Linked DNA regions of Homo sapiens: region 2 is linked to region 1. The links are contacts of gene promoters, found by promoter capture Hi-C in human tissues and cell types (Jung and others, 2019). All regions are on one chromosome and are shown on one strand. Each heading gives the region's core, a stretch centred on a gene start or on the middle of the fragment in contact. The rest is flanking DNA. Distances are from core to core; before and after follow the strand shown. Region 1 holds the start of UBAP2 (ubiquitin associated protein 2). Region 2 overlaps UBAP2 (ubiquitin associated protein 2).

Region 1 (4,795 bases), core at 1,697-4,196:
AATTTTTGTATTTTTAGTAGAGACGGGGTTTCACCATGTTGGCCAGGCTGGTCTTGAACTCTGGACCTCAGGTGATCCGCCCGCCTTGGCCTCCCAAAGTGTTGGGATTACAGGCATGAGCCACCATGCCTGGCCTGATCTGTCCATTAAGTCTTTGACTCTCAAGGGTGGTTTTTATCTCTGATGCTCCCACACATTTCTATAAAGCAGCAGGGCAAACAGGAGGAAGACGAACAGACAAGACACAATCCTAGCTCATTGTCAAAAGAGGTGAGATAAGATACACCTACACATGAATGGTGATGATGATAAGTTCTGTTTTTTTTTTGTTTTTTTTTTTTTGAGATGGAGTCTCACTCTGCCTCCCAGGCTGGAGTGCAGTGGCACAATTTTGGATCACGACAACCTCTGCCTCCTGGGTTCAAGTGATTCTCCTGCCTCAGCTTCCCAAGTAGCTGGGATTACAGGCGCCCGCCACCACGCCCGGCTAATTTTTTGTATTTTTTTAGTAAAGACAGGGTTTCACCATGTTGGCCAGGCTGGTCACAAACTCCTGACCTCAGGTGATCCACCCACCTTGGCCTCCCAAAGTGCTGGGATTACATGCGTGAGCCATCACGCCCGGCCCAGTTCTGTTTGTTAAAGGCACAGTTTAAGCATTCTTTGTTTTTTTTTTTGTTTGAGACAGAGTCTTGCTCTGTCGAACAGCCTGGAGTGCAGTGGTGCTATCTTGGCTCACTGCAACCTCCACCTCCTGTGTTCAAGTGATTCTCCTACCTCAGCCTCCTGAGTAGCTGGGATTACAGGCGTGTGCCACCACGCCAGGCTATTTTTTTTTTTTTTTTTTGAGACGGAGTCTTGCTCTGTCGCTCAGGCTGGAGTGCAGTGGCGCGATCTCGACCCACTGCAAACTCCGCACGCCATTCTCCTGCCTCAGCCTCCCGAGTAGCTGGGACTACAGGCGCCCGCCACCACGCCCGGCTAATTTTTTTGTATTTTTAGTAGAGACTGGGTTTCACCGTGTTAGCCAGGATGGTCTCGATCTCCTGACCTCGTGATCGGCCCGCCTTGGCCTCCCAAAGTGTTGGGATTACAGGCGTGAGCCACCGCGCCCGGACATTTTTTTGTATTTTTAACAGAGACGGGGTTTCACCGTGTTGGTCAGGCTGGTCTCAAACTCCGTATCTTGTGATCCGCCCTCCTCCGGCTCCCAAAGTGCTGAGATTACAGGTGTGAGCCACCACGCCCGGCAGCATTCTTTAATTCAGATGAATAACAAAGGCTTTATTTGAACTAGATAGGGCTGTTTAAGATGTCAATTGTTTTACTTAATAACTAGCAAATTAGTAATTAGCATAGTGCCCTGTACAAAGTTCAGTATAAGCTAATTTCCCCTTTCTACCTTACTTAGACCTTTTGGGCCCGATGGGTAGAGTGTGAAAATGATTACTGATACTTACTGAGGGTTTATTATGTGTCAAGCAGGCATTTTACATAATCTCATTTAATTTTCACAAGCCGGTGAAGTGTTATTACAGAGGAAAGCTCCAATTGAGATAAGGCATGCCGGGACTGCAAAGTCCTTGTATGTAACTAGCTTGGGATAAAACAGGCCAGTAAGTAGACCTTGAGAGCTTGTTTAGAGGACCTTGAGAGCTTGTTAACACGGGCGTGCAGCTACTCCTATATCCTTGACTTGTCCTCTTCTATGGGGGATGCTCCTCCTTTTCGACCGAATATGCAGCTTCGGGAGGGACGCACATGGAGAGGTGCGGGAGGAAGGGGCCACCCGCCTAGACAGCCAGATCAGCCGAATCAGCCCTGGCGATCTATGGGGTGACAAGATAGCCAGAACGCCCTCACATCCAAACAGGCCAGTAAATGGAAAATACTTTAAAACACCATGCTACAATTATAAACCATCATCTTATTTATTCGTAATTCTTGGAGTTGACAACAGGTCAGATCCTATTGAGAGGAGGTCATTAATTTTCTAAAGACAGAAAACCTGGGTCTCTTCGGTCAACAAACAACTCTAAGGTTCTTTTTTTAAATCCTTAAATAGGGAAAATCCTGGACTCAAGGAGTTGATTATATGATATAACAGAAATAAACGGCTGACTTGGAGTAGGCGTTCAGTAGATTCTAGTCTTTTCACCCAGAAGGGGCTTGGGAGGGCAAAAGTAAAACCGCACTGAAAAAGACTAAAAGTGGGCGCACCTTCCGCCTTGCCGAGGCTCTCGCTGCTAGCCGTTGGCGTTTTCCCGCGCAGGGGGCAGGGCGCAGAGCGAGCCCAGGAACGTGGGAGCGGAACCCCACCCCCCGCCAGGACTACACCTCCCAGCAGGCACCACGCTCCGCCACATGGCGGGCGGCATCCAATGGTATTAGTCCTTCAAGCCAGCTTAGTCCGCTTTCCGTCCCGGCCTTCCCTCGGCTCTAAGGTCTCTAGGGGGTTCGTCTAGAAGCCCGCTGGAGAAAGGCTGCGGTAGGGGTCGCCTTGGCTGTGCAGCATGTTGGGAGTCGTGGTCCCCTCGTGCAACATTTGGGAGGCCAGGCTTGCCCTGAGTGGTTGGACCACATCACGTGATGAGCACAGGGCGGCCACAGGGGAGTAACCTGTGGTGCTTTGTGAGGTCATCACGGCGCGACGACGAGCTGCAGTTGTGGGCACCTTGTATGCGGTGGGTAATACTCTCCTGATGACTCCGAGTACAATACATATTATCAAGTCTCCCTTATTTGTTCCTTTCTGTGGTCCCCACCTCCACGCGGTTGGCTTCGCGGGGTTGGGGTGGAGGTGGTGGCTGGAAGAGGCCGCGCGCCGCCTAGGCTGACTCTGAAGCCGCGCACGAGCGACGTGTTGTGGCTCCTCCTTCGCCCGTGACGCGAGGTCACGTGACGGGTTGGGCAGCCTGTGCCGCCGCCGCCGCTTTGTAAGAGGCACATTGGCAGGTAACGAGCGGCGGCGGCGGCAGCGGGTCTTGGGTCCTCCGAGAGCAGCAGCGGTAATTGCCATCCTCTCCCTCTCCTTCCCTCTTCCAGGGCCCTGAGCGCTGCAGCGTGTGCTTTCTAATTCTGGGTTCAGCTCGTCTGAAACCCCACCGCCTGCAGACTGCCCCGGCGCCCACCCGTGAGGACCGGGCCGAGCTTCACTCGCCAGGTCCACGGTCCCTCTACGTCCAGGCCCGGGCTCCCTCCTTCCTCTTCCCCTCACGTTGCCCTGTGCTTCTTCCTACTTTCCCCCGTCCAGGTCGGCTGGGCCCCACCCAGCCCCAGGGGTGCCTCCCCTCCCCCCTTTCGGGTTTCTGCCCTGGAGGGTGTGGTTTTCTCTCCCACCTCGGTGCCTGCCAGTAGACTGGAGCTTCCCCGCCACGCTGTCGGTCCCATCTCATCACCTTTCCGCTTTCACGCCCGTAGCTAGTCTTGGGACTGGCCCTGTTATAGCCCCAACTTATGCGCTCTCTAACCTTTCCTGGCTTACCCGGAGTCACAGTTCAGTTCTACTTCTTTTCAATTCTGTAGGGCATTGGTCTCAATTGGGACTCAGTTTTCCTCCACACCCGCCGTTCCTGTAGTCTGGTTATATCACAGTTCATTATTTAATGTAGGTTTTTGAGCGCTTTGTAAACGGCAAAGCTCTCTCTGTTAATAATACATACTCAAAATGTTATTCTTTCATTGGTGCATTACAACTCAGTTGTTTGCCTCTGAATCACTTTCCCACTCGGCTTTTCCACATTTTCCCCTGAGTTTTTAGTCTAATTAGTTGCCCACGCATCTCAACTGTCACCACTCTGGTCTCTAATGCTTGCTCGCTTTAGGGGTTGATCCCATCATTATTACTGTTATTTCCTGTTTGATGTAATCCAGTCATTTACTACCACTTCTATTGGATATTGTTTTTACCTCACATTCAAGGAAGGTATATGGTTTGCCAGTATTTAGGCTTATTGTCTTTCTACAGCACCAGTGTATCCTAACAGTTGAGAGATTTTAAAAAATTACTATTAATTTTAGAGATATGGTCTCCATATGTTGCCCAGGCTGGCCTCCAGCTCCTGGGTTTAAGCGATTCTTTCACCTCAGCCTCCTGAGTATCTGGGATTACAGTGTGCACCACGGTGCTCAGCTAGTTGAGGGTTTTTTCAGGTCTCCATAAGGTATCCAAAGATTATCTTTTATTTGAAGGGCATATAATTTCTTGGGTGAACCCAGTTCTTATATTCCTCTTCCGTTGTGACAGCACTTTTTTCAACAAGGGGTATGCGACTAGTTATTGCATTCCTCACTTTTCACTGTGAATTGTGTATCCGTTTTAGTGCCAGTTTGTGAAAGGTGGAAGGAAGTTGAACATGATACCTAAGCTCTCCCGTATCCTACATTGGTGTGTTCCCCTTTTACCTCAGGAAAGGGAATGTATTCCACTCCCTGGAGATGATAGTTTCCTTCAATACACTCACCTGTGGAGCCCCTTCGCTAGGGTTGTCCTTCCATTGCTTTGAAGGCTTCTCTTATCATTAGGCAGAAGTGATTAGTTTCCCAAACTGCCCTTTTGCTTGCTGCCAGCATACTCCTGATTTTCCTACTTATGGCTAGTTGATACGTGTGACGAGAGATTTTCCCACAGCGCTGATTTCCCCCATTTGCTTCCCTGTTGCCTCTCACCCTCAATAATTATGAAACCTTTCAGAGAAGGAAGGTTTTTGTTGTGATTGAAATATGCCCGAAAGTGGTGGCATGGGAGAGAATGAGGCCATGGGAAAGGGTTGTGGTAATTGCCTCTCTTGCCTGT
Region 2 (4,795 bases), core at 932-3,431, 130 kb after region 1:
TCTCCGTGGTCTCCACACTTATTCACAGCACTCTTTTGGCTTTTATCACTTTGTGCCTTAGAGAAAACACCCTCTGGAGCCCACCTTTTGAGATATGTTGCTCTTTCTATCCCTCGGGTTGTTTGTTCACCTCTGCTGCTTGTGAGCCTAGTTCCTGCCTGGAGAATTCTCGTGTTCTGTGAAAGTGCTCCCCCTTCTGGGCTTTCTCTGCTCCCGTCCTCAGTTGTGCAGCTCTGTGTGTTCCCAGCTCTGCCTCTTCCGGGGGTTCTAGGCTGCTATGGGTTTCCGGGAGGTTTCCTGGAGGGTGTGAGTGCCATTCCCAGCCAGGATGGCTCCTTTCTGGGATCGGGCACAGCCCAAGGGCTTTGCCTTTCCTCAGGGGCCAGGTGTGTCCAGGAGTGCGAGGCCCTGGATGGTGAGTGAGGGTCAGGTCAGACCTCCCCTCCTCCACGAAGCTCCACTGTGCTTTGCCGTCTCTGTCTCCACACTTTGTTGTATCTGCCATACTTCCCCCAAGTCCTGGGCCAGGGGTGTCCAATGTTTTGGCTTCCTTGGGCCACATTGAAAGAATAATTGTCTTGGGCCACACATAAAATACACTAACATTAAAGATAGCTGATGAGCTTAAAAAAATTGCAAACAAATTTCATGTTTTAAGAAAGACGAATTTGTGTTGGGCCACATTCAAAGCTGTCATGGGCCGTGGGTTGGACAAGCTTGTCCTAGGCCATGTCAGTGTTTTGAGAGCAGTGTAGGTGGTGACAGGCCAGTTCTGGGCTTCACCTGGGGTCCTGCTTATTCCCGTGCCTACCTGGCACTGCCCCCTGTCCCCCCTTAAACCTTTCAGGCCCCTGCACTTCTGTTGCCTCCTTTTTCAGGTCTGCTCTGTTTAGTCAGCTTTCCTAGCTGCTCTAGTCTCTCACACAGAAAAGCCAGCGAAGTTGGTTCAGCCCGAGGCATTCACACAAGCACCTGCCTGTGGTGTCAAATGGATGTGTGAGGCTTGGTCTCCAGCAGCTCTGCCTGGTGAAGCTGCAGGGTTGGCCGGTCTGTGTGCTTATGTGTTAGGCAGGCCGCCTAGTTGCACACTCTTCCGAGGGGCACCATTTACTTGGCGTTCCCTGGGACTGCTGGCTCTCAGGCATGGAGTCTGTTTCAGGAGTGTGGCGTCACCACTTCCATGTGCTGGTTCTGCTCTCCTGGGAGTCAAGCAGGGCCAGTCGCTGATCAAGCCTCCCTGGTCTCTCCTAGGACTACTATGGAATTCCCTTTGCTGCACCCACAGCGCTTGCCAGCCGAGATGGGAGCCTAGCTAATAATCCATATCCAGGTGAGTTTGCTCAATGGATGAGGAGTAGCCCGGGGCCGGCCTAGCGCGAACTCCAGGAGCTGGGAAGCAGCAACAGCAAGCTGAGAGAGGCCTCTTAGTAGCCTGTGCTGAGCTGGCAGCCAGACCTGTTCCTGTTTGCAGAAGCCAGTGTGGCCTTTCTCTGGTTGGAGGAAGGGCAGTGGCTGGAGTCAGTGCTCTTTCCTAGGTGATGTCACAAAGTTTGGCCGTGGGGACTCTGCATCCCCTGCACCCGCTACCACACCAGCTCAGCCACAGCAGAGCCAATCACAGACCCACCACACAGCCCAGCAGCCCTTCGTGAATCCTGCACTGCCACCTGGCTATAGCTACACTGGTCTTCCCTACTACACAGGCATGCCCAGTGCCTTCCAGTATGGCCCCACCATGTTTGTGAGTATTTCAGAGGGTGTGACTGTGTCTCCTGGCCTTGGGTTGCTGGCAGGTGGAAACCTGGGACCTATCTTCCAGCAGGGAGGGAGGGTTGTGATTCCACTCCGTCTTACCTGGTCTTCAGAAACTGTTCAGGCTGGGGACAAGGTCACTTTTCCCCTGCTGTGTTTAGATCCAGCATGTGTTGCACTAATGAAAACACAGGTCCCCTGTGGTTGTGGGTATGTCACCTGCTGCCTTAGGCTCTGGCAGGGGTACCTGACCAGCCTCAGCTTGCCTCTTCCTACACTAATACCTCATCTGCTTGCCCCCCCAGGTCCCTCCAGCCTCAGCCAAGCAACATGGGGTGAACCTCAGCACTCCCACACCTCCCTTCCAGCAGGCCAGTGGTTATGGCCAGCACGGCTACAGTACAGGTGAGGGGTACTTCCCAGACAGAGACACATGGGGTTAGACAGGCTTGCCTGGCTCACACTTGCCTCTTGTACCCTGCCACGCTAGGTTATGACGACCTGACCCAGGGGACAGCAGCAGGAGACTACTCCAAAGGTGGCTATGCTGGATCATCGCAGGCACCAAACAAGTCTGCAGGTTCTGGGCCTGGCAAAGGTAGTGTTTACCTCTCCTTTCCAGGATAAGGCCTGGAGTGGTGGGCTCCTGCCTGATCCCCTCTCAGGCAGGGCAACCCCTGAGTGATCCTGGAGGTGGGGAGCCTGGAGCTGGGAACAACTGCTGTGGGGAACAACTGCTTTTCCTCCTAGGAGTATCAGTGTCTTCAAGCACCACTGGTCTACCTGATATGACTGGTTCTGTCTACAATAAGACACAGGTGAGGGACAAAGGTGGGTTGGGTGTATAGGTTTTTGAGAGGTTACAGCCCAACCTGACCTTCACCATTGTCTTCTTTGCCCTGTAGACTTTTGACAAGCAGGGATTTCATGCAGGGACGCCTCCACCTTTCAGCCTGCCCTCGGTCTTGGGCTCCACTGGGCCCCTGGCCTCGGGAGCGGCCCCTGGCTATGCACCCCCACCATTCCTACACATCTTGCCAGCCCACCAGCAGCCCCACTCACAGCTGCTGCACCACCACCTTCCGCAGGATGCACAGGTGAGTACAGTGATGGAGGCAGCCACCCTACTCTGGGCCAGGGGTTCTGCTCCAGCCTTGACAGCCTTCCCTTCTCCTCTTCCTCAGAGTGGCTCGGGTCAGCGCAGCCAGCCCAGCTCCCTGCAGCCCAAGTCTCAAGCCTCCAAACCTGCCTACGGCAACTCTCCATACTGGACAAACTAAACCCAGAAGAGAGGGGTGGGCTGGGGCAAGGCTTATCCTGGGCAGGAGAGAACACACGAGCACGTATTTGGGAGCCCAGTGCCCTTTCCTAGAATTCCCGACATGTGTCAGCCATGCCTCTGTGGGGAGTCTGCCTCCCAGACTGGCTACTGTATGTAATGTATTTATGTATGTATTTGTAAATGTGATAGAAGTCTGGGGGGGAGTTGGGGGATGGCGGCAGATGTTAGCCAGGTCTGCCCTCCCCATTCAAGCCCCTTCTCCACTGTAGCAAAATAAGCACCCCCACCCCATCTGCCTTCAGGTCTTCTTCACAGCCTGCACTGCCCAGTGGGCCACTAGGGGCAGTCTCTGGAAGGGCTGGTTCAAGGCTGTTTGGGTATAGGGGTCAGGTACCAATGAAGAATCACGACTTGTCTCACTCCTTTGGAAATTGTTTTCTTTCCTGTGTAATTACTTCATACCTCTGTTTTTGAGAAACTGTTCCGTTTGTCATCTGTCATGGTCTCCTTCCACCAAATCTTCATCTGGGAATAGCAGCGGTATCCCTCCACCCAAGTATGGCCACCTGTTTGTCTTCATATAGAACAGGGGCTTCTGGTCTGGTCATGTCCCTAGAGACTTACTAGAGACTGGCTGACCATGAAAAAAAAAAAAATAATCTGAGTTATTCAGCCAGTCAGCTCCCCTTTAAAAATCTAAGGTATCTCCAAGCAACACATCTCCATTCTAGTTGTCTTGAACCACGTGGGCAACTGTTTCAGGGGTTTTCTCTTGCCCAATCCCCACCTAATAAAGTTCTGAGAGCATGCATGGTCTCTGTGTGGTGTGACTGAAGGGCAGCTCAGGGCAGAAGCCCTGGACTTCACAGGGCTAAAGGAGATCCCACATGGTCATAGTCTTCTGACACAGGCTATAAAGGCTTGAAATGGTTTTCCTTTTTACTGGACCCTCTTGGCCCAAATCACAATGGCTGTAAGGACAGCTAAACCTCCTTACAGGGCCCAGGCCATGTTGATCAAAGTTAACCTGGCTTTTCTTATAGCTCCTTAAGAGACTTAGGGATAGGGCAGTGTCCCACAGAGCCCTGTCCACTGGATACCAGGGCAGGGTAATTTCTTTTCCAAATCTCAGTGGACTTTTACAATCTGAAGCAAAGCCAAGAACTGAGAGCAGGGTTCTAGGCCTTAAGGGAGAGTATGAACAGGTATACCTGTCTTTTGCTTGTCATCAACTGAACATAATCTTGATTGGCAGTCAAAAGCTATGGTAGAACACGTGACTAGTGAGGGTGTCATGAGGTAGGCTGGTGGATCCGGGGCTACATATCTGCTCCAGAAAAGCCCAACCAACCATTCACCTTGTGTCAGGTCAGAAGCCAGGGAGTAACCAAGGGCCATAGGAAGGAGGCAGATCTCCTGTTGGCCAACCACAACTGTGCTCCAATCCAGCAGGCAGGAAGCTCAGGGCCTAGAAGTGTTGCCCAAGGTGCTACAGCCTCTCTTTTCACTCCTAAATCGCTGCTTCAGATCAGGTTAAAGGAGGAAATAAAATGGCTAGTCAGGTGATTGATTGATTGATTGTGTCAGAACCAGCCTGGGGTCACAATCTACTTTTTCTGCTTTTGGCCTCTACAATTGAGAGCGATGGTCCTGTCATCAGATGGGACCGATACTCCTATTAACCCACAGCTTGGGACCTTACCTAGAAAAAAGGTAAGTGTCTACAGGTAAAATTAGGACTTTTATTAAATAGGGTGATCT

Evidence for each region. The method cuts DNA at HindIII sites, captures the fragments that hold promoters and counts their contacts. A contact is called where the count stands out against the background at its distance.
Region 2: a fragment that was not itself captured here is called in contact with the fragment with the promoter of UBAP2 in region 1 in 2 of the 25 tissues and cell types used here (lymphoblastoid cells and spleen).

Annotation. Positions count from the first base shown.
Region 1 is chr9:34,047,038-34,051,832 of GRCh38, reverse strand. It overlaps UBAP2 (ubiquitin associated protein 2), which reads left to right and starts at 2,946. Exons shown (of 29, transcript NM_001370062.2): 1 at 2,946-3,008. It also overlaps the pseudogene RN7SKP114. RefSeq lists enhancers at 412-1,266, 1,267-2,123, 2,314-2,843, 2,124-2,979, 2,980-3,836 and silencers at 2,874-2,963, 3,114-3,163. The HindIII fragment of the contact is 41,306 bases long and covers 1-4,795 here.
Region 2 is chr9:33,920,741-33,925,535 of GRCh38, reverse strand. It overlaps UBAP2 (ubiquitin associated protein 2), which reads left to right. Exons shown (of 29, transcript NM_001370062.2): 23 at 1,252-1,330; 24 at 1,536-1,741; 25 at 2,058-2,157; 26 at 2,243-2,350; 27 at 2,503-2,570; 28 at 2,658-2,849; 29 at 2,937-3,843. The coding sequence ends at 3,032. Among named protein-coding and RNA genes, the nearest start is that of SNORD121B, 11 kb to the left of the region's middle. RefSeq lists an enhancer at 181-420. The HindIII fragment of the contact is 6,345 bases long and covers 1-4,795 here.